4 separate regions of the Homo sapiens genome follow, and regions 1, 3 and 4 are each linked to region 2. The links are contacts of gene promoters, found by promoter capture Hi-C in blood cells and fetal thymus (Javierre and others, 2016). All regions are on one chromosome and are shown on one strand. Each heading gives the region's core, a stretch centred on a gene start or on the middle of the fragment in contact. The rest is flanking DNA. Distances are from core to core; before and after follow the strand shown.

Evidence for each region. The method cuts DNA at HindIII sites, captures the fragments that hold promoters and counts their contacts. A CHiCAGO score of 5 or more calls a contact.
Region 1: the fragment with the promoter of PSMA5 here is called in contact with the fragment with the promoter of CFAP276 in region 2 in 5 of 17 cell types (M2 macrophages, endothelial precursors, M1 macrophages and 2 more); the score reaches 6.4 in M2 macrophages.
Region 3: a contact is called between a fragment that was not itself captured here and the fragment with the promoter of CFAP276 in region 2, in 1 of 17 cell types (erythroblasts). The highest score is 5.5, in erythroblasts.
Region 4: a fragment that was not itself captured here is called in contact with the fragment with the promoter of CFAP276 in region 2 in 1 of 17 cell types (naive CD4 T cells); the score reaches 5.2 in naive CD4 T cells.

The regions. Positions count from the first base shown.
Region 1 is chr1:109,422,464-109,428,047 of GRCh38, forward strand. It overlaps PSMA5 (proteasome 20S subunit alpha 5), which reads right to left and starts at 3,985. Exons shown (of 9, transcript NM_002790.4): 1 at 3,839-3,985. The coding sequence starts at 3,867. RefSeq lists enhancers at 4,048-4,979, 4,486-4,545. The HindIII fragment of the contact is 5,034 bases long and covers 576-5,584 here.
Region 2 is chr1:109,110,281-109,116,723 of GRCh38, forward strand. It overlaps CFAP276 (cilia and flagella associated protein 276), which reads right to left and starts at 2,467. Exons shown (of 5, transcript NM_001245025.3): 1 at 2,319-2,467. The coding sequence starts at 2,399. ELAPOR1 (endosome-lysosome associated apoptosis and autophagy regulator 1) reads left to right here and starts at 3,835. Exons shown (of 22, transcript NM_020775.5): 1 at 3,835-4,056. The coding sequence starts at 3,904. RefSeq lists a silencer at 3,587-3,656. The HindIII fragment of the contact is 3,574 bases long and covers 1,530-5,103 here.
Region 3 is chr1:108,840,636-108,847,164 of GRCh38, forward strand. It overlaps AKNAD1 (AKNA domain containing 1), which reads right to left. Exons shown (of 16, transcript NM_152763.5): 6 at 2,499-2,632. Among named protein-coding and RNA genes, the nearest start is that of AKNAD1, 13 kb to the right of the region's middle. RefSeq lists a silencer at 5,512-5,806. The HindIII fragment of the contact is 677 bases long and covers 1,228-1,904 here.
Region 4 is chr1:108,786,462-108,792,511 of GRCh38, forward strand. All of the region lies in intron 11 of STXBP3 (syntaxin binding protein 3), which reads left to right. Among named protein-coding and RNA genes, the nearest start is that of STXBP3, 43 kb to the left of the region's middle. The HindIII fragment of the contact is 1,690 bases long and covers 1,068-2,757 here.

The DNA of each region.
Region 1 (5,584 bases), core at 2,735-5,234, 310 kb after region 2:
TATAAAACACAGTTATTACTTTTTTTTTTTTTTTTTTGAGACAGAGTCTCGCTCTGTCGCTCAGGCGGGTGCGATCTCAGCTCACTGTAACCTCCGCCTCCTGGGTTCAAGCAGTTATCCTGCCTCAGCCTCCCCAGCAGCTAAGACTACAGGTGCATGCCACCACGCCCGGCTAATTTTTGTATTTTTAGTAGAGATGGGGTTTCACCATATTGGCCAGGCTGGTCTTGAACTCCTGACCTCGTGATCCACCCGCCTCGGCCTCCCAAAATGCTGGGATTACAGGCATGAACCACTGTGCCTGGGCCTAATTATTACTTTTTACTAAAAGTTAGTCACAGGTACATTTCTCTACTTATTTGTATGAATTACTATTGTTATCTTAACAGACTGAGATCCATGTAGTTCCTAATTCTAACCTAGTTCATTCACTCAATATTTATATAACTTACATGTCAGACTGCTTTCCTCTCTAAACACTTCCCCTTAACACTTAACACTTTCCACCTTTCCTTGCTCAAGTGTGCTGGAAATCCCTACGGAGAAGAGGCACCAATCATGGTCTCAGCTATAAAAGCTTTGAGCACACAATGGACACAAAAAATATGTGAACAAATGAATGAGATGGTTGCAATCCGTGGTTTATGGAGTCCAGACTTTACAACAGGTAACATGTCATATAGTAGTGCTTTTGGCCTGGCGTGGTGGCTCACGCCTGTAATCCCAGCACGTTGGGAGGATGAGGCAGGCGGATCACCTGAGGTCAGGAGTTCGAGACCAGGCTGGCCAACAAGGTGAAACCCCGTCTCTACTAAAAACACATAAATTAGCTGGGCGTGGTGGCAGGTGCCTGTAATCCCAGCTACTTGAGAGGCTAAGGCATGAGAATCACTTGAACCCAGGAGGCGGAGGTTGCAGTGAGCCGAGATGGTGCCACTACACTCCAGCCTGGGAGAGTGCTAAGCACAAGTTACTTCCAAATCTCTACTACCAGTTTCACCTCTTTCCTAACTAATTTAAATGTTTGCTGAACATTTCCACTTGCATATCCTATTAGCACTTAACACTTAACGTTTTCCAGTTTGAAATATTATCTCTTTAAATCCAGCCACCTTGCAAAATTGACTTCATCTCCTGCCATTCCAATTTCAGTTTTAATTTAAAACATCTCAAATCTTCCAGTGTTCCCAACATACGAAGTTCTAAATGATCTGACTCATTCCTCCCCATCTTTTCCCATATCCAACTATATGCTAAGTCATACCAATTCATATCAATTCCTCCTCCACAGTAACACATCACTCTTCCTTCTCAATGCCCTCATTACCTTTCACCTAACTATTGTTAATAGCCTAACACTAACAGGTATTGACTCACTTTCCCCTAATTCAGACAATTAATCTCTGTAAAACACAATTATTATTTAACAGCACACAGTTGCCTACAGAAATAGGACCCAAACTCCTTAGCCTCGTATTAAAAACCATTCAATATCTAGCAGCATCCTGTTTTTCCCATTATCTCCTGCTGTTCCCATACACGTATCATATGTGCCAGTCAGACTGGACTTTTCCCAAAATGTATTGTGCTTTTCCATTGCCCCTCCTTCATTTATCCCATATTCTCCAACCCACAACTATTGATCTCACTGTCTTTATTAAATTCCTACTCTTTCAAGAAACCTAGTTTAAATGTCAGCTCCTTTGTGAAGTTTTCCATGATCGTCTCATATTGAATGCAATCCCTCATCAAAACTTCCATGGTATTGATTTGAATTTCTCTAATGGCATTAATATATTTCTGACTCACACTATAGTTACTTCTGTAAACAATTCTTTTTTTTTTTTGGAGACAAGGTCAGCGCCACCACACCCGGCTGATATTTTTTAATGTTTAGTAGAGATGAGGTCTCACTATGTTGCCCAGGCTGGTCTCCAACTCCTGAGCTCAGGCAATCCTGCCTCGGCCTTCCAAAGTGCTGGAATTACAGGCATGAGCCACTGTACCTGTAAACAATTCTTTAAGAGTCTCAGGCCGAGCGAGGTGGCTCTCGCCTGTAATCCCAGCACTTTGGGAGGCCAAGGCAGGTGGACCACGAGGTCAGGAGTTCAAGACCAGCCTGGCCAAGATGAGGAAACCCTGTCTCTACTAAAAACACAAAAATTAGCCGGGCGTGGTGGCACCGCCTGTAATCCCAGCTACTCAGGACGCTGAGTCAGAGAATTGCTTAAACCCAGGCGGCAGGCCAGGCGCGGTGGCTCACTCCTGTAATCCCAGCACTTTGGGAGGCCAAGGCAGGTGGATCACGAGGTCAAAAGATCGAGACCATCCTGGCCAACATGGTGAAACCCTGTCTCTACTAAAAATACAAAAATTAGCTGGGAGTGGTGGCGCGCGCCTGTAGTCCCAGCTACTCGGGAGGCTGAGGCAGGAGAATCGCTTGAACCCAGGAGGCGGAGGTTGCAGTGAGCCGAGATCATGCCACTGCACTGCAGCCTGGCGACAGAGCGAGACTCCGTCTCAAAAACAAACAAAACCCAGGAGGGGGAGGTTGCAGTGAGCCAAGATCACGTCACTGCACTCCAGCCTGGGCCACAGAGCGAGACTGTCTCAAAAGAGTCTCCTATATGCGAGCAAGGAGCTTGATTTTGTCCATTGCTGTAGCACCAGCACCTAGAACAGTGCCTTGTTCACAGCAAGCACTCAAGCACATTAACTAAGAGAATAAAAAGGGATGTATTTTAGGCCGTCTTGGGAAGACAGAAAAATAAGTAACAAAGCAGTCAATACATATGTTAAGTAAATGGCCACAAAATTTAATAAATGCCTTCTGATAAGCATAACAATTTCTATCATACACACCCTAACTCAAAATTATGTCACCCGAAGATGATTCTCTTCAATGTTCTGGAAGTTAAATATCGACCAACAAAGTCACTTTATAGGACAGTGGGGAAATATGTCAAAACTTCACACACATCTTCTACGAGTCAGTAAAAAAGATGAAAAAGTGGTAACTGCAGGTGGTAAAACTTCGACAGGATCAGCATATACTTGACAGGAAATGCAGCATCTCATACCACTCAGTACAAAGAAAATGTCTGCCTTCCCTGACTTTAAAAAAGAGTAGCTATGTAAAAACTTAACTGACGAAAACAGAAACTGAAAGTAAAAATGTCTACAGCATATATATGTACAACTTAATATTGTGAACATTTTCATACCACAAAAGTTTTTTAAAACTTGCTTTAAACTTTTAAAAAGTCAGAAAAAATTTTGGTCAATTGGAATCGGCATGATGAGAAATCTCTTGAAAACCATTCTAAATTCCAGTTCCTATAAAATCAGACTCCAGACAATATATCCAGCCAAAGCTACGACTGCCTTCGCGCTTCTGAAGAAACTATACACCGCAGCATGCCCTACTACAAACCAGTTGCTTTTTCTTCCAGGAAGCACGTTTAACTTTTTGTTTGTTTGTTCAAGGCAGTCATACTAGGCACGAAAAGATGAACGGAGCAAAGAGTGACCCTTGGCCTTCTCCGGGTTCAAGGTAGGAGTTCCGGCTCCTCACGCCTTCTTTACCAAGCACCAGCCGGAGCTTCTCGCTTCCGCACCGAGTTAGGACCCAGGGGTGACTCAGCGGTAGGACAAGTGCCGCCGATGTGGTCTAGCTTGGGGAAGGACGGCGGGCGCCTGAGGAGGGCATAACATCCCCAGGTCCGGCCAGTCTCGGGTTCCTGGGGAGCCCCATGACACGGCAGAACCCAGGCCGCGCGGCCAGGTCCCGGGCCTGCCCACCCATAATTCCCACCCGACGTCCCCCAGCTGCACGGACCTGTCGTACTCAGACCGGGTAAGAAACATGGCGAGGGTAGGAGGAGGCAGCGGCTACGCGGGGATTCTGAGGACCAACACGACTCCACCGGCACCCAACTCACCGGCAGCCAACTCACCCACACGGCCGCAGTACTAAGGACCAACTGCGCGTGCGACCGCGACCTCTTTAGCCCGCCCTCCTGTGCCTGCTTCCTATTGGCTGGTAGTAGTTCCCGCCTAGGTGATTGGGCCAACGCGCTTCCTCACGAGGGCTTGGTTGGTCCGGAGGAGGAGGAGGACCAGGGAGGTACTTCCGCCTTAAATCGCGGGTGGTTGCTAGGGACGATAGGCACCCAAGGCGTGTAGTGAGTTCGCCTTGTAGAGAAGATGTGAGCCCGCCCCAAGACTGGCAATTGGAAAGGCTTGCATGCAGAGCTGGGTTGTCTGAACCCTGACATAATAGGTCCCTCGCCGGCTCCCGTAATCCCAGCTAGAGGACTTTGGTCCCGTTTCCGGCAAGGCCACCACCTGACTTCTCTTCGCAGGATTCCCTCTCTTAGGGTTCCTCCACGGTGTTCTCCATGCCCGGTCGAGGGCTCCAGGACTTTGGGCGGTAATGAGTCGGCTACAGTGGGTCTGAGCCGGCGCCGCGGACGAGTCCCTTCGTTTCAGCCAGTTTGGCTCGTTTATTGAGAAAAGTGGGGGGCGAGGGGTTAGTATGTAAGAAAGTCTTAAAGTTTCCACATGGTTAAGGTAATTTTATCAACTCTTTCTTGCACCCCTCCCCCTAGTACAGGTTTCAGACCTAAATAACCTAGAGTTCAGGATCCAGACTTCAAAATATTCACTGCTTTTTCTGTTGTTTGTGAAAAATAAGTGTTTTCTTTGAGCCCAGATCGTGCTATTGCACTCCAGCCTGGGCAACAGCCAAACCCTATCCGAAAAAAAAAAAAAAAAAAAAAGCGCTTTCTTTTTCGACGCTTCTTGCTTCCCTTCAATAAGTTGCTTGAGGAGCAACTTTGCAGCTTCGTAATAACACTGTAATTCAAGTATTTGTTCAAGAAAGGCAAGTAAGAAGTCTTGGCACGGGGGTGGGGAATATAGGGAAATGTTGGTCAAATGATACAAAGTTTCAGTCAGAGAAGGTGGATGAGTTCTATAGTTAATAATCATATATTGTGTACTTGAAATTGTGAAGAGGGTACACCTTAAATGTTCTCACCACAGGAAAGTATGTGAGATGATGGATTATGTTGATTAGCTTCATTTAATTATTTGCAGTGTGTGTGTGTATATATATGTATATCAAAACGTCACGTTGTATACCATAAACATGAACAATTTCTATTTGTCACTTACACCTTAAAGCTGGAGTCGGGGGAAAGAAATCATTTATCAGGCAGTATATGCTGGAAAGGGAAATGCCAGCATCTCATTTCCAGTTGTTAATGTGATACCACTAGTCAAGTCCTTAACCTCTCAAGGCCTGTATCTCTCCAGTAAAGTTCATTCTTGGTCCTAGATTAGGTTTGTAAGTCACCAAGGCATTTCAAAGGTGCAGGAAATGTAAAAATAAGCCTTTTGAGTATTAACCAAGATTAGTTTTCCCCACCCTTTATTTTCTGACTTCCTTCATGGATTCAGTAGGAGTTTAGTTTGGTCATCCCTGGCCAATCAGATGTTTAGCACTAATAAAACTGAGGAAGAACTCCAAGTAGCAATCCTCTGGGATCTGTTAGATTTCTGAGAAAAGAATGGTAATTTT
Region 2 (6,443 bases), core at 1,217-3,716:
CTTTTCAGGAGTCAATATTTACTATCTCTACTTCCTCACTCACCATTCCCATACCCTCTTTAGCTCACTGCAGTCTGGCCTCTGCCTCAAGCACCCCCTAAAACTGCTCTTGCTAGTTATCAATGATCTCTGTGGCCAGGTCAGGTGGATCCTTTCCAGGCCTGATCTTATTTGAACTCAGCTGTTTCTGGCACCATAATGCTGATTCCCTCAAATGCCCTCACCAAGCTCTGTGGGCCCAGCTCCTCTGGGTTTTCCTCTTATTTCTGGCCCTTATCTCTCAGCTACTGTCTCAGCTCCACTTTCTCTCTGTCCCTTAGGCAGTGCTATTCTCCAAGGGTCTCATTTTTACTTTTCTTATGCTCACATCCACTGGATGAGCTGATTCCCTTCCATGGCTTCAACTACCATATGGGTACCATAGCTCATACGGATACACAGCTCAGTCATACATCTTCAATCCAGAACTCTCAATCCTGTTGCCTACTATTGACCTTCACTTAAATATACCACAGTCACTACAAAAACATCTACATAGTTGATGTTTCTCAACATCTTTCTCCCCAAACCTGCTTCCCCAGGATGCCCCATTTCAGTGAAACCTCAGAATTAAACCGTTAGGAACCCAGCAGCTATCCTAGACTCACCTCCTCTCTTGGGCCCATGTCCAGTCAGTCTCCAAGTCCTGTCAGTCCTGCCCTGTGCACCTTTCTCACATCTGCACCTGATCACCACCCCCTGTGGCACTGCTGTAGATCTGTTACTCTTCCTCCTGGAGATCACCTCACCTGCCTCCTAGCTGATCCCTCTTGTCTCACTCTCATCCTATCCAGTCTGCTGCCACTTGTGCTTCCTAAAACACCCATCTGATTGTGTCACTGTGGTACTTAAAATCCTGCTATGGGGCTGGGACCCATGGCTCATGCCTGTAATCTCAGCACTTTGGGAGGCCAAAGCAGGAGGATCACTTGAGGCTAGGAGTTTGAGACCAGCCTGGGCAACAAAGGAAGATCCTGGTTCTACAAAAAAATAAAATAAGAATTAGCCGGGTGTGGTGGCATCACCTGTAGTCCCAGCTACTTGGGAGGCTGAGGTGGGAGAATTGCTTGAGCCCAGGAGTTCGAGGCTGCAGTAAGCCAAGATTGCACCAGTGCACTCCAGCTGGGGTGACAGAGCAAGGAGACCCTGTCTCAAAAAAAAAAAAATATCCCACAATGATTCCTCACATCCCTAGGATGAAACCATAGCTAGCTAGCATGGTGTACACAGCACACCCAGCCAACCAAGGGCATCTCTCCAGCTCTGATTTCTGAGTGCTTCCATTGCACGCCTACACTCCAGCCCTTCTAGACTATTTGCAGTTCCCCAAATAAGCCATTCTCTCTCTCCTTTCCATGTATTTGCACCTGCTGCTTCCTTTGCCTTGCATATCTGGTTCCTGTTTCCTTCTTCCTAACTCACATTCTATCCACTCCCTCACCTGGCCTACCTAACTCATATTTGGACATCAAAATGCATCTGCTCTGTGAAGCTTTCCTTTAAGTTCCTGGTTCTCACGGCACCCTGCACACAACTCTGTCACAACATGTGCTATTGTGCAAGCATTTTTGCTATTGTCGGTCTCTCTTTACTACTAGAGTTCCTTGACAGCAGAAGCTACATCTAATTTATTTATATATCCTTGGCGTTTAGCAGAGTGTCTGGCTTATAGTAAATAAGTATTGAATAAATAAAAAGGGGCTCTCAATATTGTTATTAGACCACAATCACCACTTAATTCATCTTATTGTGCACCACTTCATATATCCCAATCACTTCTACCAGAAAAAAGATCATCTAAGTTCCGAAATCAGTGTCCACCATCATGCTAAACACACACATAACAAACATATTGTGGTGTTAACCAGAAGACAGAGACAGTGTGAACACAGATGTGTAAAGCATGACCTCTGGTGGCTTTCAGAGGATTCTCTCCCACTCCATATCTCATTTCTCTTCAGAGAACAGTCTTCCAAATAGGGAAATGGGTAGCTTGAAGGAACCTGGGCACTGCCATAACTTATACTCACAATTGATTTGAGCTGCCAGAGCCCCTTGTTCCTCTAGACTAGAACTCTACTTTCCTCTGCTCAAAAACGCCTCTGAAACGTTAGCCGACTTGAATATGGAGATAGGGAGGCAGGCAGAAAACAGACTTCCCTGGTACCCGACTGAGTGTCTTCACCAGAGTCCTTTATGTTACCATCTCTGCTCATCACACAGACAGAAAGAAGACTACCGGCGACCCTACTGGGAATCTGCGCAAGAAACCACAGTACCTTGGAAGCCCGCAGTTCTCCTAAGTAGGAATCATCGTTATCTAATGTAGGCTGCTGGAAAGGGTCCCGGGTGGGAGGCATGGCTAAATGCCTAACTCTTTTAAGAGGGATGGGAGGCCCGCTCAGCCGCAGCACAGCCTCACTGGCATAAGATCCCGGGTCCCAATTGTTTGGAGCGCTGGTTTCGGTTGCCAGGCAACTGCCCAGCCATCTATGACAGAGGAATTCCCTCAGAGGAGGGCGCCACCTGGCGGCTGACCACGGGAGGCCCCTGGGGAGGAAGCTCCGGGGACTGCAGAGGGAACGTTCCGCTGAGCGGGCCCGAGACTTGGAATTGCACTCCTGAGCCTCGGCGGAAAAGTGCTGGCTGCTCACCATCAGGACTTCTGCAAAAGACTTCAGTTGAGGAAAGAAGTCCTGAAAGATGACCCAGAAATTTCCTTCTCCCTCGCACCTAACAAAAGGCTTTCAAAGCCATGAGAGAATGAGGATGTCAAGAGACCAAAGAGGGCCGGGCGCGGTGGTTCACGCCTGTAATCTCAGCACTTTGGGAAGCGGAGGCGGGCGGATCGCTTAAGCCCAAGAGTTCGAGACCAGTCTGGGCAACATGGCGAAACCCCGTCTCTACAAAAAGTAGGAAAAAAATTAGCTGGGCTTGGTGGCACGCGCCCGTAGTCCCAGCTACTCGGGAGGCTAATCCAGGAGAATCTCTTGAACCCGGAAGGCGGAGGTTGCAGTTAGCCGAGATCGCGCCACTGCACTCCAGTGTGGGCGAGAGAGTGAGACCCTGTCTCAGAGAGAGAGAGAGAGAGAGAGAAAGAGAGAGAGAGAGAGAGAGAGAGAGAGAGAGAGAGAGAGAGAGAGAGAGAGGCCCACGTGCGGCGCTTGGGAAATTGCGGCTAAGGCAAACTCCTCGCTTAAACTCGGATCAACTACAGTGTCAGGGCTTCTCTTCTAGCCGGTTGTAAAAGCACGGATGGATTTGGCGGGATGTAAGATCTCCAGGAGTGGCCTTCGTAGGAGGGAACACGTACTGGGGCCTCTTCCAGGCGACGACGTCTGGAGGGTGATCTCTCCATCTTCTTTCTCTCGGTTCACACGCCACGTGTGCAACATCGGAGATGCTCATAAAATAACCCCTGGCCCGAAAGGGCAGTAGAAAACGGAAATTTGTTGGCTGGCTTGGAGGATGCTTCCACTGTGTTCTTCACACGAGCCCCGGGCCTGCCTGTTGGGCCGGTTGCGCACCCCGGGCGCGCGCTCTCCCGCGCCCACGCCGCGCGCACCAGCGGCGGCGGCTGCCATGGCGACCCGCAGGTGAGCTGCAGAGGCGCGCGTGGTCCCTGCCCCACCCGCGCGGAGCCAGAGAGGAGGCGGTTGTCAAGGCGACGTGGGTAGGAGGAGAGGACAGAGGGAGGAGGAAGGATGGGCGGTGTTGGCGTAGCCGCAGGGAGGTGACTGAAGCGAGCCTGGCCTCTTGCATCCTCCGCCTGTGTACCTCCCTCCCCTTTTTTTCCGCCTTCTGCCAGCAGAAGCAGCAGCCGCAGCACCTGAGCCGCTACTGCCGCTCACTCAGGACAACGCTATGGCTGAGCCTGGGCACAGCCACCATCTCTCCGCCAGAGTCAGGGGAAGAACTGAGAGGCGCATACCCCGGCTGTGGCGGCTGCTGCTCTGGGCTGGGACCGCCTTCCAGGTGACCCAGGGAACGGGACCGGAGCTTCATGCCTGCAAAGAGGTACTGCCGCCCCCCTACCCGATCCCGCTTTGGTCACAAAAGTCTTGGATCCAGGCGGAGACCTTGGGGACCCAGGCGCAGAGAGTTTCAGACGCCACGGAGTTTAGATTTCTTTGGGGATGAGGCGTGGGGGGAGGGAAGAGGAGCCAGTCTGGCGTCATGAGGAGGCCAGCACATTGGAGGACTCACGGATAGATCATCCTCACAGATTGGGATGCTGAGCTCAGCGAGAAAGGTCCCAGCCCCAAGAAGGGGAGCTACCTGGGTACCTGAACTCAGAATGAGGGAGGCAGACGAGTTATTTTCCAGTTAGGATGAACTCACCTTAAAAGTGGTTGACAAGAAAAGATTATGCACAGAGAAGCAAAATAGGAAGAGGAAAGAAGAGTAGTGGGAGAGGAAAGGAGTTAGGAAGGCCAGAAAAAAGTATCAGAGCGAAGTGGTTTTATCATGGCTACACAAAACGGAGTGTGAAGGTGGGAGATGTGCGAGAGGGATGATAGGATTCCAGCTCTCTAGTTCCTTGTTTATTAAACATCGGTTAGTGCAGACTGTAAAATGTGTCTCCTCCTTATAGCTTGGCCTCCCCGCAGCGTACTATGTTTAGTGTACCTGACAGTACACGACTCACCTTTTTGCAGATTTTGAGTTCTTCAATATCTTGTGTTCTGCCAACCTCTAGTCTCCTTCTCTGACTTAACATATGTCAAAGTCTTTTTCAAGGTATTTCCAATATGTTGGAAGCAGAATTCAGACAATAGGTAGTCAATCTCTTATAACCAAAAATAGCTTTTGAAAAGTCATCTTGGAGGAACATAAAAGGGCACTAGCAGCAACAAAACTAAGTCATTTCTATGTTATTGAAATAACAATATTTGGTTGTGCTCTGAGCAACTTTTTTAGAAACCATATGGCAGAGGCAACAATAAGATATTTACAAGAACTACGTTGGGGAAGGCAAAATAAAAGTTCTGTTATTTCTGTGAAATGTGAAGGACTTCATAAAAAGTCAAGCATCTAGCTCTGTAAATTTAATCCCAAATATCAAGCTTGACTAAGGTTTTGAGAGGTTAGAATATATATATAGATGTATTTTCTTTACTTTAAAAAATATATGTTTTAAAATAGAAATGAGGTTTCGATATACTGCCCCGGCCAGTCTCTAACTCCTGGGCTCAAGCGACTTCCCACCTCGGCCTCCCAAAGTGCTGGGATTATAAGAATGAGCCACTGCGCCCAGCCCAGAATATTTTTTATAAATTGTTAGTGTGAACTGATTGGCAACAACTCCATCCCATATGGAGATAAATTCTTATAAAGATGTTCTGTGTCTACAGCACAGCAGGTCATAAAGAAGTCAGGTGTGGGGGGGAGGATTTTTGTGTGAATAAAGATACTTGATTTTGAAGATTCATGAATATGACATAAGTGACCCCAGTGAGTGGGACTTTTGATAACCTTTATTAGCTCCAATGACAACCTGCCCTGGGCCATCTACATTTCCACCTAGCCGCATTATGACCTGTTTTAGAGATCGCAGGGAACAGTATGATCTTATCAGTGACTGGCTCACTGGCCTTGATGGCCTGTGGTCTAACCAACCAAAATAATGAGACCAAGAAAGCCCACTTGCCTAAGAATCAAACAAGGGAGTTTCCTGAGTGGAAGGTAAGAATCATACAGTTTAACTACCAATTCTTGTTGAGATCTTTGTCAACAATGGAAAATATGAGACATTTCAGAAATTAAGCACTTCTATTATCTTGGTTTGGAGGAAGGGAAGAATATTGATACTTGAGAACTCGAACTTGTGTACGAATTTTGCCTTTGGTCCTGTTTGAATAACCAATATTTGCCTAAGCAAAAGGTCTTGCCACAAAGTGTAAGCTTAAGGTAGTGGAAAGCTATGGAGCTCAACCTACCAGGGTTTCAGTCCTGTTACTTACCACGTGGTTTTTGGATTTGTAGAATGGGTATCAAAATAACACCTACCTCAGAAAGGATTGCTTTGAGTATTGAAATAGAAAATACATTGGAAACACAAAAGAGAGTTACCCACCCTCCTTCTCTGTTCAGCTTCTTTCCCATTAGATCCACACCCCATGCCAGATTGGAAATGGCTTAGGAGGCATGCCCATTTGCCACAGGCGTCAGCAAGTCCTGTTTACATTCTCCTTGAGCAAACAGTGGCCATTGAACACCCTCAACTCCAAAACAATCAGGGAGAGAATAAACCCATTATTATAGTATTCATTTGGCAATATGAACTGATCAAACAAGTTTGGGGGCTTCCAACCCCAAATGGTGAAAAACCAATTCAAGGTAGACCAGCTCTTCTCTGTTCTTTTTTTTTTTTTTTTTTTTTGGTGAGACAGAGTCTGGCTTTG
Region 3 (6,529 bases), core at 316-2,815, 270 kb before region 2:
GAAATAGACACATAGATCAATGGGATGGAATAGAAACAGTTCTGTATACATGTGGAGGTTTTGTATCTGATATAAGGGGCTTTTTCAACCAGTGGGGAAAGGCTGCCCTATTCAATAAGTGGTGGGACAAAGATCTAAGCATGAAAAAAACAAAGTGATAATTGAATAAAATATAGGAAACTATGTTGGGATCTTGCAGGCAGAAGAGAATGAAACAGGGGACAAGGAGAGACTGAAAGTTTAAAAGAAATGAGCCCGGGTACGGTGGCTCATGCCTGTAATCCCAGCACTTTGGGAGGCCAAGGTGGGCAGATCACTTTAGGTCAGGAGTTCAAGACCAGCCTGGCCAACCCGGTGAAACCCCGTCTTTACTAAAAATATGAAAAAATTAGTCAGGCATGGTGGCATGCACCTTTAATCCCAGCTATTCTGGAGGCTAAGGCAGGAGAATCGCTTGAACCTGGGAGGTGGAGGTTGCAGTGAGCCGAGATCGCGCCACTGCACTCCAGCCTGGGCAACAGAGCAAGACTCCATCTCAAATAATAATAATAGTAATAATAAAAATAATAATAATAAAAGAAATAAAATGATGGAGCAAGGCCTCAAGGAAGTAGAAAGGGATGGGTTCAAGGACCATGGCTAGAGAGGTTGGAGAGCAGACTAAGGAAGGGAGAGGAGGTGAAAACATGGGGATTTGGAGATAGAAGAGACATTTTTGAGGGAAGTTGTGATCTTTTCTTTAAAGCAGAACATAAGATTTTATGCTGAGACTCTCAGGGAGAAGTGGCTGATGAAGGTAGAACCCCATTTCTTGAATTCTTGGCTTCTGAAGTTAATATGTGAAAGAAGCAAATTACTATTGGACTACATTCTGACAAGCAAGATGCATGAAATCCAAGCAAATATTTTTGCACATTACCTTGTAAAGGTAATAATGAGAAGGCTTTAATAAGAGCACAGCAGGTGATGTAAACAAAGGACTAGTCAATGAATTTGCAGAATTCTTGCCCCTCCAGAAAGCCCTCTGCATTAGCCTTTGGACTCAACACTTATAAGGTTCTCGACATATCAAGAACCCAAGGGTTGTATGGGATTCTGTTCCTTGTCACATTATGCCCATTTGAGAACAAGGGGACTATTCTGGAGCTGATCAGTCTTTGCCTGTCCTGAGGTGACTTCAGCCGAGATTTGGGAAAGTCTGGGTCCCTCCCTTGCCCCAGTGTTGAAAGCTTCTCCCATATATGGAATGTAATTGCAGTTGAAGCTCTTTTTATTTATACTCATGCCAGGCACAGTGTGGCTGTAACTAGGATATAAATAAGACATTGAATAACTTTGGTCTTAATGTGCACAGAAACCTGTCTTTAAAATGACTGCCCAAGCAGAAGATTCCTTGGAAAATAAATATCCTTACTCTATTAATTTTAAATAGCAGAAGCATGCAGAGTTCTTTCTTCCTCTCCCCCCAAAAAAAGCCTTTGGGAAAAAAATCAATATTAAAACCTCATCCTTACTGTCTAATTACTCAGTGCTGAAATAAAGGTAGACAGAGGTTCCATTAATTTTGGAAAAGTAAAACCATACCTTGGGGAAAAAAATGCCACAGAACGCTAGGGCTGAAATGTAAACCATTAAAAAATTTGGCAACAACAATTCCATATTAAAATGCTATGAATAGAAAGGGCTAAACTCACAAATATTAAGCCTACTAAATAGTTTCTTTTAATTTATACCAGGAAATTATAGGGAAAGAATCCTCTCCTTGAGTCCTGGAATACAGCTTAAAATTATCTGGAATGGAGAAAGGAGAATACAGTGCCATAAAAACTACCAGTTAGAAACTTCAGTTTGGAGTGTGTGTTCAAGATTCTAATGTGAATTAACTCAGAAATCATTTAACTTTAAGCTTTCACGCTTTTCCTTTATCAGGATTTGTAGGTCCCTCACCCTGACACCAATTAACTTTACAATGACCCCCTCCTGCCCAGTGTGCCTTGGAATTATCAGTGAATGGGAAAGAAAAGGGGAAAGAGAGGGACAGAAGAGAGAACCAGGCAAGGACAATAAAGGCAGGTGTGGGGAGAGATAGATAAGAGAGGAAAAAGCTGAGAGGGAGAGGAGAGGAGGAACTTGAGAAGAGGGCCCTCTGTGGTTATCATGTGAGCCTTTCTAGGGTTTTCTTAGGCTCCTCTGGGTCTCCAAACCAATTATAATGATATTCAACAAATTGCAAAATTTTGGTACAATGCCTCTGCCCCAGGAAGCATTTGTTCATTTTGGGTGTTCCATCTGAGTCAATGTCCAGCACAGCACCTTACACTCAACAGGTCCTCCATGCTGTCTGTGGTATTAGGTGACACTTTGTTCATTGGTGACACAGTTTCTGCTGACCCTAGACCAGTGGCTCTCCAAGCACTAAGCCAGCAGCCACATCAGAATCCCACCTGAAGGAGATCACCTTTGACCCTTCCACCTTACACAGTTGGTTTAAATCTGACCTTTCTGGATCAAAGTCACCAACGATTGTTGATTCGTGCTTGTGGACTTGCTGCTGCAAAGTCAGATGCTTGTCCTTGGTGGCCAGAAAGTTCTGCTCCAGCAGTTCAAGGTGTCCCTGCAGTTTCTCCAGGACCTGCAGCGGTGAAGTCACTGGAATCATTCACATGCAAGCCTGTGTGTGTAATTGTTTTCCCAAAAACACAAAGCAGGTGTACCCTACAGTAGTGTCAAAACAAAGCTGCCATCCTTCTCCCAGCAGCATAAATTGTTTTGTCTCAGAGTCTGACATCTAAACTACAGACAACCCAAGGGTCATCTCAACATTCACAAACCCTCACAGCACACAGCTCAAAAGTACAATTACTTCTGATTTCTCTCTCAGAACCCACTCAGAGGCCTCTGGCCTTCCTTAGTGGGACATTCATAATCCTGTATATTTGCAGAATGGTTTTTAGCTTACAAAGCATTTTTCCATTCCTCATCTTATTTAATCAACACATCAATGTTGTAAATGTAGTAAAGTATATTTTATTATCCCACTTTTACAAAGGAGGAAATTGGAGCTCTAGCAATATGTCTGAAGGCACATAGATCTTAAAAAGGAACTGTAGTTACATGGCCTGGGTTTCAGTCTGTGGGGAGTTGGAGGATGAGATGGGGAAGGAACAGCAGGAAGATTTAGCCAAAGCTGTGAATGGGTCTTCCAGACATCACTACGTGCAGCCTCAAGCAGATGAATGTTTAAACTGTGCGGGTTAGGGGCATGTTGAAGATGTATGGAGGCTTCAGTTCCACATCCCCAGTCACTAAACATTCCCTGAGCACTTTCTATTTCTGGCCCTGGGCCAGAAGTGTGAGATTAAAAAATTGCATCAGGCACAGTTCCTGGTCTTAGAGATGTTATTCCATTGAGAAAAGAGACTGTGGCTTAGAGTACTTAGCCAAAGGCCAGGCACAGTGGCTCATGCCTATAATCCCAGCACTTTGGGAGGCCGAAGTGGGCAGATCATTTTAGGTCATTAGTTCAAGACCGGCCTGACCAACATGGTGAAACCCCATCTCTATTAAAAATACAAAAATTATCCGGGCATGGTGGTGCGTGCCTGTAATCCCAGCTACCTGGGAGGTTGAGGCAGGAAAATCACTTGAGCCCAGGAGGCAGAGGTTGCAGTGAGCCAAGATTGCACCACTGCACTCCAGCCTGGGCAACAGAGCGAGACTCCATCTCTCTCTCTCTCTCTCCATATATATATATATATATATACCAAAGCCAGAGCTCTGGAGTGCATATCTATATATGTATATATAGATATAGATAGATAGAGAGAGAGAGACCTTTGCCAAGGCCCAGTGGAAGGAGTGCAACTTAAATCAGGCATAAAGGATGCTCTGGAGGGCCTGGACCAGGCAGTATCCATGAAAATGGAGAGGAAGGGATGAATTGGACAGAGGTTGCCCAGGACAGAAACATAGCTCGGTGAGGTTACAGGATCAGACACAGCTGGGTGCAAGTTCAGACTCTGTCACTTACTCATTGTATGATTTTAGTAAACTTGAACTCTCTAAGCTTCAGTTTCTACATCTGTAAAATTAAGGTAATACTCCTTGCCTCATATTATAAAAACTAAATGAGATAATGCATTGTGCCAGGACTATAGTACATACTTGACAGATTATTAATTCTTTTTTTTTTTTTTAATTTAAGACAGTCACTCGCTCTGTCACCCAGGCTGGAGTGCAGTGGTGTGATTTCAGCTCACTGTAACTTCTACCTCCCAGGTTCAAGCAATTCTCCTGCCTCAGCCTTCCAAGTAGCTGAGATTACAGGTGTGCACCACCATGCCTGGCTAATTTTTGTATTTTTAGTAGAGATGCGGTTTCACCATGTTGGCCAGGCTGGTCTCAAACTCCTGACCTCAGGTGGTCCACCCACCTTGGCCTCCCAAAGTACTGGGATTACAGGCATGAGCCACCACTCCCAGCCAATTCTTATTAATATTAAAAATGAATAAACAAGAGTTTGGAAACATATTGGCTAAAGGGTAGATAAAAAGCGGCAGGTGTGGCAGATGTTTTACATTTCTCCCCAGGTTCATCCTCTTTCTCTGTGCTGACCTTTAATGGACTGCACCACAGGCTCCCCTGGGCCCTGGCTTTGGTTGGTTTTAGTCGATGGAAGGCAACAGCAGGAGAGAGGAGTTGGAGGATGAGATGGGAGTCTTTTCTTCCTCACCTGTGCCGTCATGGAGTTGACTCTGTCCCTCCACCAAAAGCCACAGGGCTTGTCAGCTAGTCCCACAGTGACAGCTGCTCTCTTTAGGCTCTAGGACCTGCTTTTCCTCTGTTCCTTCAGGCCAAAGGGGAGCTCCCCACGGGTCCTTCCAGGAGATGCTTTTCCATCCCTTATTGGTTTCCCTTAGCCTTGCCCACACTGTTGTAAACTAATGCCTTTGTTAAACTCTCCTCCGTTGCCCCATTTGAGTAACCATCTGGTCCCTGCCAGAACCCTGACTGACACTGTAAATCTCACAGACAATGCTTGAGTTTCTCAGCTTGGGAAGTGAGAAGAATGTGGTAGACCTGACTAAACTGGGGAATTTGGAAAGGCTAACAGGCTCGAAGATATTGATGTTGGACAAGGTAGAGTTTGCAGTGAGGGTGGGATGTCCGAAGTGAAGAGAGACACAAACATTTGGAGCTATAGATGAGAAGTCAGGACAAGTCACTTACGAACTGGAAGCCTGAAGATGGCAGCTGAGGCCATGAGGAAGAATTATGTGTTCAAGGGAAAGAGGGTAATGAGAAAAGAGATAAAAGCTAATCACAAATTATAATTCAGGATCTTGGAATTTAAATTGCATTATGTTGCAGAAGATAGGGCACAATTTCCTAGGCAGAAGTGTGCCTCACTGAATTCTCATAACAACTCTGAAAGGGAAGACATGCTGTAACATGTCTACAGTTGTGTAACCAATAAGTAGAGGCACGACATCCGCTCCAAAATCCAAATGCTTTCTGCTGTGTAGTGCTGCTCAGGCTGAGGCGGTTGCTTGTAGCCCTGTCTGGCTTTTTTCAAGACTGAACCACCTGGGCCTGGAAGTCCCAGACCACAGGCTGATAATGTCAGGAGCCACCTTTACTCTCCTCTCGGTCAGCAGGGATCCTCACATACCTGATAACATCAGGAAGAAACCTCCCGCATCCAGGCTTCCGAAGGCTCCTGACAGAACCAGTTTTCTCTGCTCTGCTCAGCCCTTTAAAATTCTGTGTTCTTCCAATTCCTGAAATCCTAGCTTTCTGGAGATCTTGCTTATCGTTGTTTCTTCCATAATCCCTGCAATCTGGCTTCCAGATCCACCACTTCAATCAAAACCAGGCTTGCCAAAGACCCTTATAACATCTTGATTGCCAAATCCAATGCACTTCTTATTTGGGCCCACTCCCCTCTCCTTCAAACCCCCTTTTCTCTTGGCTTCTCCGCCTCCGCTCCTCCCCAGCTGCCATTTCCCTCGAGTCTCTCCTGGGCCCTCTTCACTTCTCACTCTGTGTATTTTGCCTGGCCCGTCTCATCCACTCCAGCGTCAACTCACAACTATGCCCAAATCTACATTTCTCACCCAAACAGCTCTGCAGGCCAGATCCACTGGTCTAACTGCCTACTGGAGCCCTCTACTTAGATGTCCCAAAGGTAGCTCAAACTCAAAATGCCCCAAACTCAACTTGACGTCTTGCCTCCTGCTTGCCTTCCACACCCATTCTAAACGGGATCCTCTACTTTTATTCCTGACCTTGGTTACCCAAGCCAGAAATCTGGAGCTCATCCAAGCCTCTTCCCTTCCTCTCTTCAGCCCTTTCCATCTGCCACCATTTCCCTAAACCCCCAGATTTGTCCCCATCTCCAGCCTCATTGCCAGCCTTCGTTCAGGCCCTCCTGACTTGTTACCTGGATTCTGGCTTCCGAACCAATCTCTGTGCCTTCAGCCTTGCCCCCATGGTGCTTCCCATTTGTCAGCTTGAAAACCTTCAATGC
Region 4 (6,050 bases), core at 663-3,162, 320 kb before region 2:
ATTTATGGTGTGAGGTAAGGGTCTAGCTTCATTTTATTTCGATATACATATCTGATTACTCAAGCACTGTTTATTGTAAAGACCATCCTTTCACCATTGAGTTGCAGTAATGCATTTGTTGTGAATCAAGTGACCATAAATGTGTGGGTCTGTGGACTCCATGTCCTTTTCCATGGTCAATTTGTCTATCCTTGTAACAAGACCACACTGTCTTAACTAGTGTACCTTTGTAATGGTTTTGAAATTTGGTAGTATAAGTCTTCCAGCTTTGTTCTTCAAGATTGTCTCAGCTGTTACAACCTTTGTCTTTTAATACACATTTTAGATTCTGCTTGACAATTTCAACAGAAACATTTAACTGAAATTTTGATTGGGATTACATGAATCTGTACACTAATTTGGGAAGAACTGACAAAAATATTGCATCTTCTGATCCAAGAACATAGAATATAGCTCCACTTATGTAGATAGTTTATCTCAGCCGCATTTTATAATTTTCATTTTAGTGGTATTGCACATTTTTTCTTTATTTCTAGGTATTTGATTTTTTGGTGTTATAAATGGTATTTTTTAAATTCCATTTTACTTTATTAGTATATAAAATGTGATTGATTTTTGTATATTTACCTTGGATCTGGTGACCTTGCTAAATTTATTTTTTAATTCTAGTACTTTGTTTATAGATTGGCTTTTTTGTTTTTAAGAGATCGGAACTCTGTTGGCCAGGCTAGTCTCTGAATTCAAGCAATCCCCCCACCCTTGCCTCCCTAGTAGCTGGGACTACAGGCAGGTACCAGTGCACCTAGCTGGATTTTTATATACACAGTAATATAATCTGTGAATAAAGAAAATTTAGTGTCTTCCTTTCTAAATTAATCTTCCAGAGGTGTCCAAAGGAGAGAATACAGTCATGGGTTCTTAGTTTCTGTTTCGGCTAGTAAAGTCCCTTCCTTATCCCTCTTTTCCACTTATCACTAGAGACAGAAACTAAAAACCATGGCTTCAGGCTGCAAAAAGCCTAAAACAAAACAGAACAACAACAACAACAAAATAAGGTGGGTTAGACAAGCTTGTCATACGTTTAAAATTTTTTTTTTTTAGTAGTTAATACCTCCTGGTTCTGGCTGATACCTCCAGTATAACATGAAATCAAACTGGTGATAATGAGCGTCCTTGTCTCATTCCCAGCTTTATGGGAAATGAGTTCAATATTTCATCATTAAGTATTATGTTAGTTTTAGGTAGTTTTCTTTTATCAGATTAAGGATGTTCCTTTCTATTCTTAGTTTACCAACAGGTTTTTATGTGTTTCTGTTTTTTGTTTTTTTCTTTTTTCTTTTTTTTAAGAGACAGGGTCTTGTTCTGTCACCCAGGCTGGAGTGCAGTGGTGCAGTCTCAACTCACTGCAGCCTCAACCTCTTGGGCTCAAACGATCCTCCCACCTCAGGCCCCCAAGCAGCTGGAATTACAGGTGTGCACCACCATGCCCAGCTAATTTTTGTGTGTTTTTAATAGAGACAGAATTTCACCATATTGCTCAGGCTGGTCTCGAACTCCTGAGCTCAGACAATCCTCCTGCCTCAGCCTCTCGAAATGCTGAGATTACAGGCGTGAGCCACCACACCCAGCCTGTTTCTGTTTTCTTTTAATCAGGAAATTTCGATGTTGGATTTCATCAAAGGCATTTTGATATTGTCTTTTTTTCCCCTTTATTCTGTTAATGTGATGAATTACATTTATTGACTTACTAACATAAAAGTAACCATTTCTAGAATAAACTCCACTTGATCATGATGCATCATCCTTTTCCTCTATCACTGGATTTTGTTTGCTAATATTTTGTTGTAGGATATTTGCTTCTATATTTATGAGAAATACTTTTCTGTAATAGTCCTTTTTTGTAATGTTCTTGTCAGGTTTTAGCAGCAAGATTTTTTTGGTCTTATGAAATGAATTGTGATGCACACTTTGTCATTCCATTCTCTGAAAGAGTTTGTGTAAGATTGTTACTGCTTGTTCTATTGCTGCTTGAAAGAATTCACCATTGAAGCAGTTCAGGCATAGAGACTTCTTTATGGGGAGGTCTTTCGTTATAATTAATGATAAGTTATTTAATAGATATAGAACTATTTAGTTTTTTACTTTTTCTTCATTAGTTTTGGGATATCGCATTTTTCAGGGAATTTGTCTATTATATCTAAATTTTGAAATGTCCTCTTATCCTTTCAATATGTGTAGAATCTATAGTTAGATTTTATTTACTAATCTTGCTATTGTTAATTTGTTTATTCCCCTATATATTATTAATATCCCCTGCAGTCCGGGCACGGTGGCTCACGTCTGTAATCCCAGCACTTGGGGAGGCCAAGGCAGACGGATCACCTGAGGTCAGGAGTTTGAGACCAGTCTGGCCAACATGGTGAAACCCTGTCTCTACTAAAAAAAATACAAAAATTAGCCGAGCTTGATGGTGCCTACCTGTATCCCAGCTACTCGGGAAGCTGAGGCAGGAGAATTGCTTGAACCTGGGAGACGGAGGTTGCAGTGAGCCAAGATAGTGCCACTGCACTTCAGCCTGGAGAAAAGAGTGAGACTCCATGTAAAAAAAAATAAAATAAAATTCACTGCATATGTTATTAATATTTCAAAGAACCAACATTTGTCTTTGTTGATTTTCACTCTTGCATGTTTTATCTTTAATTAGCTGATTTTTACTCAGTTTTATTTCCTTCCTTCAGCTTACTTTGTTTTAAATGAAGCTTGTCCAACCTGTGGCCCATGGGTCACATACAGCCCAGGACGGCTGTGAATGTGGCCCAACACAAATTTGTAAACTTTCTTAAAACATTATGAGATGTTTTTGTGATTTTTTTTTTAACCTCATCAGCTATTGTTAGTGTATTTTATATGTGGCCCAAGACAGTTCTTCTTCCAGTGTGGCCCAGGGAAGCCAAAATATCGGACACCCCTGGTTTAAATTTTTTCTTCTAGCTTCCTGAGTTGGAGTTTTAGAACATTGATTTCCAACCTTTCTTCTGTTCTATTGTATATATTTTATAGTTATTTACATCTTCAAACTTAGCTGCATCCCAGGAGTTTTGGAATAACTTATTTTCATTTAGTTCAAAACATTTTCTAACCCTTATTATGATTTCTTCTTTGACCCATGTGTTATATAGGGAATACGTTTTTAAATTTCAAAGCATTTGGGAATTTTCTAGTTATCTTTCTGTTACTGAGTTGTAATTTAATTATACAGTGGTCAGAGAATGTGCACTATATGACATCAGTCTTTTAAAATATGTTAAGACTTGATTTATGGGGCTGGGCATGGTGGCTCGTGCCTGTAATCCCAGCACTTTGAGTGGCCAAGGCAGGCGAATCACATGTGGCTAGGAGTTCAAGACCAGCCTGGCCAACATGGCGAAACCCCATCTCTACTAAAAATACAAAAATTAGCCATGTGTGATGGCACACACCTGTGGCTCCAGCTACTCAGGAGGCTGGGCAACAGAGTGAGACTCTGTCTCAAAAAAAAAAAAAAAAAAATTGATTTCTGACCTAGCATATATTATCATAAGTGCCCTATGTGTACTTGAAAGGAATATAAATTCTGTATGTGTCAGTTAAATCAAGATGGTTAATCATGTTCAAATCTTCTATTTCTTTTCTGATTTTTTTTTACCTGCTCTGTCAGTTACTAGAAGTGGTATATTAAAAACTCTGATCATGACTGTGAATTAGTTTGTTTTTCTTTAGTCCTTTCAACTTTTGAAGTTATATTAACTGATAAAGCTATGTTAAGTTCATTATACATTTAAGATAGCTATCTTTCTGTTGAATTTGGCCTTTTATCATCATAAAATGTCCCTTTTATTACTTGCAGTATTTCTTGTCTTGAGGTCTACTTTGATGTTAATACCACTATATCTTCTTTCTTTTGTTAGTGTTTACATAGTATATCTTTTCCCATCCTTTACTTTCAACTACCTGTGTCTTGATATTTAAAATGTGCTTCTTAAAAAGAGCTTGTAGTTGAATTTTGTTTTTTTATCCAGCCCAAAAATCTTTTAATTAGAATGCTTGTTTAGTTCATATATATTTCATGTAATTATTGATATAGTTAAATTTATATCTAGTATCTTGTTTTCACTTCATTTTTTATATTCTATTCTTTTCCTTCTTTATCAAGTCTTTTTTAAAAATAAATTCCATTTCATCTCCAATATAAACATTTGTGTTTTGCCTTTAGTCCTTCCTTTAGTTATTATACTGGAAATTTAAAAATGTATTCTTACCCTAGTTTAATAGTATGTCCTGAATATGTCATGTCCTGAATAATTCAGGAATCTTATAATAGTTTAACTTTATCCCCTTTCTCTTTTGTGCAGTTGTTTCATGTATTTTACTTCAATGTATGTTATAAACTCAAGATGTTATTTTTTTCAGAAAGAAAAACCCAAAAAAATAAAAGCAAGATGTTATTTTGTTATAAACACTCAGTAGACTTTTATTATTACCCACATATTTATACATTCTGGTACTGTTTATTTCTTACTGCTCTTCAGTTTTTCCAGCTGGGTTAGATTGAATTCTCCCAGCTTTCTTTTTGTCTGAGGGCATCTTCGTTTTGCAATTTTTTCTAAGATACTTTTGCTGGATTTGGAATTCAAAGTTGGCAATTTTTTTCCTTTCAGCAATTTAAAGCTTTCAATACATCACCTTCTGGCTACCATAATTTCTGCTGAAAAAAGGCAGCTGTTAAGTATTATTGTTTTCCTGAAGATAAACTGTGTTTATTAATATTTTCTCTGTATCTTTGATTTTTTAGCAATTTGACCATGATATGCCTTACTGTAATGTGGTTTGCTTGCTATTTATCCTCCATGGGGTTTGCTGAGCTTCTTGAGTCACTGGGTTGATAACTTTCATTATGTTTGTAAAATTCTTGGTCATTATCTCCTCACATCTTCCTTTTGTCCCATCCTCTCTCTTCTCTCTTTCTGGGACCCCAGTCAACATGTTTTTTAGATCTCTTGACTGTATTCTATATCTCTTGCATTCTGTTACCTTTTTTTTTTTAACCTCTCCGCATTGCAACTGAATGTTCTCTATTAACCTGACTTTGAGTCCCCTACTTCTGTCTTCTGTTGTATTCAGTCTGCTATTAAACCCATTCATTGTATCCTTTTGAAAACTGAGGTATAAAGCAAAATTTCCCCTTTGTAGTATACAGTTCTGTGAGTTTTGACAAATGCACACTCTCATATAACCACTACCACAATCAAGATAGAGAATAATGTCATCACCCCCCAAAATGTCCTCATGCCCGTTTGCAGATAACCCCTTAACTCAGTCCCCATCCCCTGACAACTACTAATCTGTTTTCTGACCCTGTAGTTTTGCCTTTTCCAGAATGTCCAATGAATGGAGTAATACACTATGGCTCTTTTCATTTAGCATAATGCATTTGAGATTCATTCATGCTGCATGCAAGAGTAGTTTCATTACTTTTTATTGCTGAGTAGTATTCCATCATATGGATGTACCACAAGTTGTTTATCAATTTACCAGTTTCAGAACATTTTAGTTTTTCCAGTTGTTGGCAATTATGAATAAAGCTACTAAAAATATTCACCTTCTTCATATCAGACATTCATGTCTATGAACAGATGTTATCATTTGCTAACTTAAAGTCTTATATTTAACTCTAGGACATTCATTGGATTTTTAGAAAATAAATTCTAGTTCTCTGTTAAAATACTCCATCTTTTGATCCATGTAGTCCATCTTTTCCTCTGTTTCCACTTTAACATAAATGTGTTACTTTGAAGTCTTTTTCTGCCAACAACATCTTAGGTCTACTTTTTGGGAGTTTCTTTGTTTTTACATTTTGAGGTGTTCTTTTCTTAGCTTTTTTATTGATGCATAGTAACTGTACATATTTATGAGGCATGTAATATGTTTATACGTGCATACAGTGTGTAATGATCAAATCATTGTATTTAGAATACCCATCACCTTGAACATTTATTATTTCTTTGTGTTGG